Regions from separate parts of the Homo sapiens genome. Here region 2 is linked to region 1. The links are contacts of gene promoters, found by promoter capture Hi-C in human tissues and cell types (Jung and others, 2019). All regions are on one chromosome and are shown on one strand. Each heading gives the region's core, a stretch centred on a gene start or on the middle of the fragment in contact. The rest is flanking DNA. Distances are from core to core; before and after follow the strand shown.

Region 1 (5,725 bases), core at 2,108-4,607:
GGGGAGGCTGAGGTAGGAGAATCACTTGAACCCAGGAGGCAGAGGCTGCAGTGAACCCAGATCACACCACTGCACTCCAGCCTAGATGACAGAGTGAGACTCGGTCTCAAAAAAAAAAAAAAAACAAAGAACTGATGGAATGCCTGAATCAGTGAATGAATGTGAGCTGTGGAGGTCCAAACACCCCAAACCACCTCATCCCTTGAACGAATCCGCGTTTCACAACGAGGCTCCCCACTGACTCATGCCTCCGAGGCTGGGGAATCCCTATTTTCCTCTGAGCTCATCCCTGACATCTCTTCCTCTTTAAGGTGATCCTTGCTTTTGGCTTTTTACCTGTACATTGCTTGGTGATACAGACAAGCCAACTGCTCTGAAAGCACAGAGGTAATTCCAGAGCATCCACCTTTCTTCATTTACTGTCATTCACCCAGAGCTGGGAGCCTGTCTCTAAATTCCTTATCTGTGTTCATGTCAGGAGGTTGAAGCAAGCCTCGTCTTGCCAAATAATCAAGGACTGACAGAGTTAGAAATGAAAGCGTAACAGAAACTTGGACTGATCACAGACTCAAACCAGTACATCTCCTTTCCTTCTCCGAATTGGGAACTGAAACCATTCCATAGGAAGCTCGCTCTTCCCCCTCCTATGGAAAAATATCTGCCTGGCTTGATTCCCTTTTTATATTATTTATTATTATTATTTGAGATGAAGTCTTGCTCTGTCCCCCAGGCTGGAGTGCAGGCACACCACCTCGGCTCACTGCAACCTCCGCCTCCCGGGTTCAAGCAATTCTTCTTCTCCCAGCCTTCCCAGTAGCTGGGACTACAAGCGGCCGCCACCATGCCTGGCTAATTTTTCTTGTATTTTTAGTAGAAGTGGGGTTTCACCATTTTGTCCAGGCTGGTCTCAAACTCCTTACTTCAGGTGATCTGCCCGCCTTGGCTCCCCCAAAGTGCTGGGATTACAGGCATGAACCATTGCACCTGGCCTTGATTCCCTTTTTAATGCACAAATATGAAGAGCAATATTCACCAAACTCTAATAAAATGTAAGTGCTCTTGCAATCCTATCTGTACTATCCTTCCAAATTATTTTTAATCCCAGCTCTTTCTATCTTTGTTTAGACACAGGTGTAATTTCTGCTTAGTTGTTTCATGATGTAGCTCAGTGTCTGTGTCTCTTTCTTACTTTGCAGTGTGGAGTAGTTTTCTACCAGGACAAAGTTAACAACCCATAAAGGTCTCTGCTTAAGTAAGAAGTCCATTTCTGTGAACCATAACCCAGATATAGCAACGCCAGACTGTCTCCTATCAAAATTTATTGAAATGGTAGATTTTTGGTAAGTACAGAAACACAAGCGAAGGAACCAGGAGGAACGTGCACCCCTCTACCCGTGGGGCAGAGGCACGTTTCCCTTTTAATGGTAAAAGCAAACAGGTGGGAAACAGCTTTCTATCCTGAAGCCGTTTTAACTGTTCAACCCTTAGATTACTATAAACAAGAGAGGAATGGATTGCATTAGTCGCTGGTTGAAAGCAGCAATGCCATTTCCTTTCCCATAATAACACTGTTTAGCTCAGTCCCTTCTGGGGCTAATCCCCTATTACACCCACCGGAAACACAGATACTAACCAAAGCATGTGAGTCTCTTCCCTGAGTCCATTTCTGCTAAAGATTGTCTGAAAGATGAATTGGTCCACGGAAGCCAGGTGACCTACTGGCTTGTTTAATGATGCCTGGGCTTCCTCCAGGAACAACACAATTCCCTCCAATCTCAGCTCTCCTTATCCCTGCTAGAGCTCACAAGCAGGCTAGATATCACCCCAGGAGCTGAGCCCCCTCCAGTCTGAGGCAGATGTGGGAAGAAGGCCAACAAGTCACAAGTAGATCTCTGGCTCCAACTCTGCTCAGCAGAAACGCCTACAATTTGCCCATCTTCAGTCCTGCGAGCGTCAGAGATGAAGCAAGTTTCAGATGCCTAGAAGCTTTACTCTCTGTTCCTCCAGGATTCCTGCGGTCACACCTTGCAACCAGTCTCCCACTCATCTGCCACAGTTTCCCTAAATCAGATTCTCTGAATCTGGAAGTTCCAGGAAATCTTAGGCCGAGTCCAGTGACATTACTCGATGCAACAGCCCAACTGTTTCTCCAGAGATGCTGGTTCTTGGTGACAATGTCCCTTCTTGGAATGGTTATTTGAGGTTGGGCCCAGATAAGAGGGGCTCCATGGCTCACCGGAGTTGGCGATTAACGCCTCTGGAGCGCCTCTGGTTTTGTTGGGGTCCCCTGTGAGCTCGACGCTCGTGCTGCGGTTATTATCTGGCTCACCTGTTATCTTCCTCTGGAGGCAGCGGTTGATCAAAGTGGAGAAGAAGTTGGGAAAGGATGGGCTGGAGAAGTAGTACACCACGGGGTCCAGCATGCTGTTCATGTAGGTGAAGCTGAGAGTGATAAAGAACGCCAGGTCCACCGAGCGGTACACTTCACAATTCTGCGTGCCCGAAGTGTGCAGGAGCCAGAAGATGTGGATCCGCACAACCACGCTGGGAAGGAAGCAGATGACAAAGACGATGGCCACCACCATGATGAAGGTGATGGCTCTCTTGATCTTGGCATGCCGGTCCATTTGTCTCTGCCGCAGGCTCCAGATAATTCTGGCTGAGCAGAACAGGATGATGCCCAGGGGCAGGAAGAACTCCAGGAGGAACATAGCTTCGTGCCACCGGAAGGTATGGCAGATGCTGAAGCTGATGCACACATTTGCAGTGCCATTCTGGATCAGCAACTTCTTCTTCAGGAGGTGGACTGTTAGGCCAACAGTGATGCCCCACAGAAGGCAAGAGATGATGGCTGCTGTCCAATTGGAGATCTTGTTCAGGGCGTGGTGGGGATGGACCACCCGGAAATACCTGTCTACCGCCACCACCGTGAGGAATATGATGCTGCCCTGGCGGTTCATGGCAAACATGAAGAGCACCAGCCGGCAAGGGATGTCCCCAAACTTCCAGTCTGAACGCCGCACATAGTAGTCCATCACGAACGGCAGGCAGATGATCAGTAGAAAGTCAGCTACTGCCAGGTTGAACAGGAAAATCCGGCTGGATTTCCAGGACTTGAGGTGGAAACAGAAAATCCACAGGGCAAGGCCATTGCCCAGAAGCCCAAAGATAAACTCCAGCCCCAACACCGGCGGCAACACCTTGGCAATGAAGTCATCTCGGAACACACAGCAGTTCTTCTTGTCTATTTCCAGAAAGTGATCCTGCAGATGGTGCCGATTCATGAGTGCAGCTAGTGAGTCCGATGGAGCGCCTCGCCTAGTGAATGCTCCAGCAAAGTGGCGTGTGTCTGTATGGTGAACGTGTGGTTCCGTGCCTGCCTTTATGTCATGTCAGGGTGTTGAAATAGATGACTGAATGGTTATCAGGAAACTACGAAATCTCTAAAAAAAAAAAAAAAAAAGCCAGCAAGGCTCTTATGCAACCTGCTGTTTGCATAAACAAATAATAAAAATCCCCTGGGCATACAGGAACCCACCAAATGTCTTAAATGTAAAGGATAAGTTTAGGCAAGCTGACTGTCATTCGAAAATCAGTGAAACATGAAGGACATCCCTTTGGAAGGCTGGGTGCTTGTATGCCAACTGAGTACTCAACGTTGCAGAATTAATTCACCGTCATCTGCTTGGCTGACATAATTAACAAAACAACAACAATAGCAATAATAATTTTTGGTGCCAAACAGTGAGGTTTTCCAGAAACACTAAGAATTAGCATGAAAAATTAACAGGCATATGACATAAACAGTAGCAGGCATATGATTTCTTTTGGAAATGCTGAGAAGACAGTAGTTGCCTGTTTGATGAGGACAGACTGGTTGAATTTGACCACTTTTCCTATGCTACCTTTCTGTACAAACATGGAGTGCTTTTCCATATCAGAACTCTGCCATTCATCTCCAGTTAGGAAAAAAAAAAAAGCCTGCTGGAGAGTGTAATATTTCATAAGATGTTTGAAAACTTGAGCCCAGTTTCAGTGGCATGTTAAAATAAGTTGGGTTTTTTGTTTGTTTATATTAGATTTTGATATGCTTCTGTGCTCAAGTGATTTAAGTATGTGATTTCTTTTTTTTGCAAACTTTGAATTAATGAGAAAAGGATTCATGAGGCTAGTTGTAAGCTGTAGCAAATCGGGTGTACTTTGTGCTACAAATTTGTTTTTCTGTGTCGCTCTGCATGAAGAGGGGTACCTTAGGATAGAGCATGGGGTTAGTACCCCATAAGCTGTCTGTTCTAGACAGCCCAGGAAACTGGTCAGTAAGAAAGTTGGTTGCAGGTCCCTGAAACAAACAAAAAACTGGATGAGGTCTCTAACTTGTTTTATGTCCTTGGGACCTTAGGATGTGATTTTTTTTTTTTGAGACAGAGTCTCACTCTGTCACCCAGGCTGGAGAACGGTGGAACAATCTCAGCTCACTGCAACCTCCGCCTCCCAGGTTCAAGCAATTCTTCTGCCTCAGCCTCCTGAGTATCTGGGACTACAGGCGTGCGCCACCACGCCCAGCTAATTTTTTGTATTTTTAGTAAAGACGAGGTTTCACTGTGTTGGCCAGGCTGGTCTCGAACTCCTGACCTTGTGATCCACCCGCCTCGGTCTCCCAAAGTGCTGTGATTACAGGCGTGAGCCACTGCGCCTGGCCGTGATTTTTTTTTTTTAATGAACTTTATTTTTTAGGGCAGTTTTAGATTCACAGCAAAATTGAGCAGAAAGTACGGACGGTCCTGTGCACTCTGTCTCCACACACGCAAAACCTCCCCCACTAAGTATGTGATATTTTTAAAGCCCCCATTTTTGTAAAATTAAACTTAGAGTGACAGGACCTAAGAGGACATGGAACCCTGCCTTGTAGCGGGACACCATTGCACACATTGTTTCTCTGCTTGTCAGTGCGATTGGGTGTCATCCTATAGAATGTTTTCTCCCTTTAATATTTTGGTCTTATGAATTCTTCCATGCAGGAGACTTCTAAACTATGTTGCTTCTACTTTGAGTTATATAATGTAAATTTCTTCCTTTTTTTTTTTTTTTCTTTTGAGATGGAGTTTCACTCTATCGCCCAGGCTGGAGTGCAGTGGCTCACTGCAACCTCTGCCTCCTGGGTTCCAGTCATTCTCCTGCCTCAGCCTCCCAAGTAGCTGAGACTACAGGTGCCCGCCACCGTGCCTGGCTAATTTTTGTATTTTTTAATAGAGATGGATTTCACCATTTTGGCCAGGCTGGTCTTGAACTCCTGACTTCAAGTGATCCTCCCGCCTTGGCATCCCAAAGTGCTGGGCTTACAGGTGTGAACCATCACTGCCGGCCATAAGATGTCAATTTATTTCTTTAGCTGCAAACGCAGGTTCAATAATAGGAGCTTATAGAGTCTTCAAGTAAACTAGAGTTAGGATGACCTAATATTAGGTTCCCATAGAACTACAAGTACTTGATGATGATCCAGGTGAGATGAAGACAATGATGAAGATGATGGTGGCACCTACATTATAGAGAGCTTCCCATGTGCTGGAACCCATACTCAGTGCTTTTTTTTTTTTGAGACAAAGTCTCGCTCTCGCCTCACTGCAAGCCCCGCCTCCTGGGTTCACGCCATGCTGCCTCAGCCTCCCGAGTAGCTGGGACTACAGGCACCCGCCACCACGCCTAGCTAATTTTTTGTATTTTTAGT
Region 2 (5,725 bases), core at 847-3,346, 510 kb after region 1:
ATTTTTTATTTCTCCTTTATGTCACATTTAGGATAGTATATTGATTTTTTAAAGCGGGTAAAGGTAGGTTATATTACCTATGAATTTCATTTCAGGATAATATAAATTGATGTTATTTTGAAAGCTGTTATAAAAACAGAGCTCAGAGGCTGGGCACAGCGGCTCATGCCTGTAATTCTAGCAGTTTGGGAGGCCAAGGTGGGTGGATCATTTGAGTTCATGAGTTCAAGACTAACCTGGGCAACATAGCAAAACCTTGTCTCAACAAAAAATGCAAAAATTAGCTGGGCATGGTGGTGTGCACCTGTAGTCCCAGCTACTTGGGAAGCTGAGGTGGGAGGATGGCTTGAGCCCAAGAGGTTGAAGGTACAGTGAACAGAGATTGTGCCACTGTACTCCAGCCTGGATGACAGAATGAGACCCTATTTCAAAAAAAAAAAAAAAAAGAAAGAAAGAAAAGAGAGAGAATGAAAGAGGAGAAAAAGAAACAAAGAAAAGGAAGGAAGGAAGAAAGGAAGGGAGGGAGGGAGGGGGTGGGAGGGAGGGGAGAGGAGAGGTGGGGCAGGGAATATATTCTGATTCTGACTTAAGATGCTAATGTCAAAAAAAAAAGGTTGATTTCTAATTATCAAAAGTAACAATTTCTAGTTAAACACAAATTTTCCAGAAGTTAAAATACATTGTGGCAATGCCTCCTTTGTCCTAAAGCATGTTAATTCAGTTATCAAAAGCTAATAAGGGCTAGCCACGGTGGCTCATGCCTGTAATCCCAGCACTTTGGGAAGCCAAATCAGGCAGATTACCTGAGGTCAGGAGTTCGAGACCAGCCTGGCCAACATGGCTAAACCCCTTCTCTACTAAAAATACAAGAATTAGCTGGGCATGGTGGCGCTCGCCTGTGATCTCAGCTACTCGGGAGACTGAGGCAGGAGAATCACTTGAACCTGGGAGGCAGTGGTGGCAGTGAGCCGAGATCGCACCATAGCACTCCAGCCTGGGCAACAGAGCAAGACTCTGTCTCAAAAACAAACAAACAAATAAACAAAAAGCTTATGAGTAGATACATTAAGGGAAGCATTTAATATACTTAATAAAACATTCCATTTTTAATTGCATTTGCATGGGCATTTTTAAAGGTCTTTCACGTTAGTGCATACTGATTATTATATGCAAACAAGCATAAAGTATAAAAACTGAAAACTCAATTTTTTAAGCATATAATAATACTTTTTTATAATTTCAATAATTATGGATAATGGATATAAATAATTACACTTAGCAGTTGCTGCTATCGAATTCTTAAACCAGGTAATCTTTCATTTCGCTTACTCTACATTCTGAAAAATAACACAAATTATGCTTCTAAAAGTACAATTAACGTTTAAAACAAGATCTAGTGCTTTCTAAGAATTAATAATGGTTTAAACATTTCTATAAAAAACTATCAAATCCAGCCTTAGGAAAGTCTATCTTGAGCATTATCCTATGAAATAAAATTTATATATACTTTTTTTTTTTTTTACTGAGGGGGTCTTGCTATGTTGCCCAAGCAGGTCACAAACTCTGGGCACAAGCTATCCACCTCTGCCTCAAGTGCTGGGATTACAGGTTCTCTTTTTTTATATATAGAGAGAGACAGGGTCTCAGTCTGTCACCCAGGCTGGAGTGTAGTGCTGTGATCATAGCTCACTGCAACCCTGACTTCCTGGGTTGAAGTGATCCTCCCACATCAGCCTCCCAAGTAGCTAGGACTACAGACACCGTGCCACCATGACCAGCTAATTTATTTATGTATTTATATTTGTAGAGACAGGGTCTCGCTATCTTGCCCAGGCTAGTCTCAAACTCCTGGCCTCAACCAAACCTCCCACCTTGGCCGCCTAAAGTGCTGGGATTACAGGCGTGAGCCACTGTGCTCGGCCATGTAAGTATTCTTTTAACTGTTACATTTTTATATCACAATTTAACCTATGAACCAAAGAAAGAACCACTGATCTGAAAACAATATAATGCAATGTATCACAGCTGAATATGGTAAGGTACTAAATAGAAGCTTCAATTTATAATTAGAACATTGAAAATATTTCAAAGTGGATTTAGGTTTTTCAAAATGATGACAATTCCATATAAGTTACTGACAACATTACAATTAGTAACAATTTTAATAATTTTGGGATTCTCAGGTCTCTGAACCAAGACAATGTTTTAGTTCATATTTAATATACAAATTAGTATGTCTAATCAGTAATATATTGTTAAAAAATACTTTTGATCACCTTTTTCCCATTCATTCAATATCATTCCCAAATTAATATACTTGACCACTTTAGCATTAACTTAAAAGTGTCATGCTCTTCAGGACATAAATTTCTAATAATTTAGAGTTTAGTAGAGGTATGTTTTAACATAATTATTTTAAAATTCCAAAAATAAAACAAAATTAGATACCTCACAGTTTTTCCAAAGTTCCGAATCAGTCTTTCCACTGTTTTGTAGCTCTTGCATTAAAGAAGTTAGGACTTCAACTGTACCTTGAATTACAGATGGTCTGGTCTTCCCTGAGAAAGAGGATACCCCATTTGTACTAAGGTGGGGACTACTTCTGTTGAAACATAAATAATTCAAATGGTTTTCTTCATTCTATCAAAGTGTTGAATAATTCAGCAGTTCAAGATTTAGCAGAGCAGTACAAAACCACTGACATTTAATCCTTCTAATGGCACCTCATTTGTTCAAAATCTGATCACAAGTTGCTCCACAAAAGGAAACGGCCAGTAAAAAGACCGCACTGTACTCTTTTTAAGAACACAACAAGAAGACCTTCTCCAGAAGTGAGAGAACACTCCAAAGGATCGGCAGAAAATAGAAAAAGTCTGTGCTAAACAATAAGATTAATTTCCAGCTTCTCTGATCTCAGCTATTCCAGAGGATTATTTCCCCCAACTTTCAGAACAGCCCTTCATTGTGCAGTGGGGATTCTTTCCCCACTGCCCCAAATGACAGTCAAATCTTGTTCACTGGACACCCTTAATTTGGTACGATAAGCTGATGCTTATCTCTGCACTATCTCTGCATAAAAGTTGTGCCAAGCAAATCAGCAGCAAATATTCAGGACTTATTTAGCCTACTCAGTGTGTAAAACAGCACTGAGTTTTTCCAGGAGTACTGCTTTTCCAAACTTCAGGTAAGTTATTTCGGATTTGTTTTATAAACACACAATATATTTCAGGACATTAAAATGTACTTAAAATCTAGTCACCAAAAGATCATTTTAATTTATTTACTGCTTGATATCCTGCTTTCTTTCACAAATAATTTGTTTAAAAAAATAAATAAAAATAACAATAAAATAATAGTTAGGACCAGTGAAAATATTACTAAAAATTCAAAGGAGGCCAGGCGCAGTGGCTCACGCCTGTAATCCCAGCACTTTGGGAGGCCAAGGCGGGCGGATCACCAGGTCAGGAGATCAAGACTGTCCTGGCCAACATGGTGAAACACCATCTCTACTAAAATACAAAAAATTAGCCGGGTGTGGTAGTGCGTGCCTGTAGTCCCAGCCAATCAGGAGGCTGAGGCAGGGGAATCCCTTGAACCCAGGACACGGAGATCGCAATGAGCTGAGATGGCACCACTGCACCCCAGCCTAGTGACAGAGCAAGACTCCGTCAAAAAAAAAAATTCAAAGGAAAGAATATATGTTATCAGTAAAGGATTTTACATAGCTGTAATAATCAAGTTTAAATGTGGCCAATTTAACTGCCAGTCACAATGAAAAGGAAGACAAGTTTAATTGCCTAATTTTCACTAGCAAGGCACAGTTAGCTTCCTCCAGCCAAATCAAACACTGTTCTAACAGGAATATCTTCTAGAAGTGTACTTTAAAGGGACCACCAAGTAATACAAGAACCAAAATGCGTGGCCAACTTTCTGCAAGTGCATACAGATTACTGTAGGACCATTTCCTGTGCCTTTTAAAATTTCCTTTTCTCGTTTTATTTCACATATTCCTTTGTTTTTTACAACTCCCCACCCCCATTGTTTTATATACCCATGTAAGCTGCCTTAAATTCCTCCTGAAAAGGGCAGAGAATTAACAACTTTTAAAGTAATGTATTTATTTATAATACACAATTTCTTCAAGACCTACCGTGTTTAAAGCTCCTTGCCCCTTTACCAGTAAGGCCCCAAAACCGCTGTTTTCCTTCCTTGTACCCGCTCTTTATAGATGCTCTCCTCTCTTACAGTCCTTGCCTCTTTGCTGTTTCTACACTACTATAAATTTAGAAACCCAATAACCAAGCTTGTCAGACTATGTGCAAATTGAAAGTAAACAGGCTCTGATGAAAAACAAACCATGATCTGTGTTAAGACCATTAAAAAATAAAAAACCAATCACAGGATAGCTTAAAAATAAAATGCATTTTAAAAAATTAATAAAATGCATAAAACACACTTTGATAACATCTATTTAGTCCACTATTTTGTCTACTTAGAGTCTGTTATTGTCTTAACTTCCTAATACTCAACTTTAACTGCTACTTCCCACATTGGTGAAGTATTTCTGCAACATAAAACATCAATTGTCCCAATCATTTAAAAATGTAGAAATAATATTTAGGCAACTAAATGTTAAAGATATGCTTGTAATTTACCAAAAACAAACAAAAAAGTATAAAGGAAAGTAAAACAAGCAAAACAAGTTCTTTTTCAGAATGCTTTCCATGCAAAAGTACATATCTCTGAGAGAAATGAGAAACATGAAAAGACCAAACCTATTCCTGACTTAAACATCTGTCCCCGAACATTTTTTTTTTTTTTTTTTGAGACAGAGTGTCGCTCTGTCGCCCAGGCTGGAGTGCAGTGGCGCAATCTTGGCTCATTGCAACCTCTGCCTCCCAGGTTCCAGCAATTCTCCTGCCTCAGCCTCCTGAGTAGCTGGGACTACAGGCGCGTGCCACCACACCTGGCTAATTTTTGTATTTTTAGTAGAGACGAGGCTTCACCATGTTAGCCAGGCTGGTCTCCAACTCCTGGCCTCAGGTGATCCACCCGCCTCAGCCTACCAAGGTGCTGGGATTACAGGCATGAGCCACCGCGCCCAGCCTCCCTGAACATTCTTGATGATAGGTTAAAAAATAATAATAATTCAAATCAGTAACTATGACACTATTTGGATAAGTTGATAAACGTATGCAAATAAGGTTATTCTGATTTGGTACATTTTTTTTAAATCCCATTCTTACCTATCAGTATTTAAGTTCAGTCCAAGAGAATGAAGAGAATTTTCATCAGATCCTACAGAAGATGAAGTTTTGTGTAAGGTTTTCACCAAGTCAAACTCTTCCATAGTGTACAGAAATTGTTATATTCTCTTATTGGAAAATAAAGGTTCTTGGGCTGTTTGAGAAAAATGAATCCGTGTCATCTTCAGAGGCTTCATCATCTACTGGCATTTTCAGTGGCTAACATTCAGAACTGTGAAATATCCTAAACTTCCAAGAGAGTCTGAAAATGAATGGGGGAAAAAAATACTACTATAAAAAGCCACCAAAGCTAGCAACTGTTTTTACATAACTTTGGAAACCTTAACTGCTTTCATACAGATCTCCATTAAGGATAGCAACAGTATTCATAATAATCAAAATGTAGAAACCACCCAAATGTCCATCAATGGATAAATGGATAAACGAATGAAGCATATTCATAGAACAGGATAGGATTC

What was found. Contacts are between HindIII fragments. The study calls those that stand out against the background at their distance.
Region 2: a fragment that was not itself captured here is called in contact with the fragment with the promoter of HCAR3 in region 1 in 1 of the 25 tissues and cell types used here (mesenchymal stem cells).

What each region holds. Positions count from the first base shown.
Region 1 is chr12:122,713,454-122,719,178 of GRCh38, forward strand. It overlaps HCAR3 (hydroxycarboxylic acid receptor 3), which reads right to left and starts at 3,358. Exons shown (of 1, transcript NM_006018.3): 1 at 1,303-3,358. The coding sequence starts at 3,284. The coding sequence ends at 2,121. The HindIII fragment of the contact is 11,637 bases long and covers 1-5,725 here.
Region 2 is chr12:123,225,015-123,230,739 of GRCh38, forward strand. It overlaps MPHOSPH9 (M-phase phosphoprotein 9), which reads right to left. Exons shown (of 24, transcript NM_022782.4): 2 at 5,247-5,508; 3 at 2,449-2,602. The coding sequence starts at 5,350. Among named protein-coding and RNA genes, the nearest start is that of MPHOSPH9, 5.3 kb to the right of the region's middle. The HindIII fragment of the contact is 6,998 bases long and covers 1-5,595 here.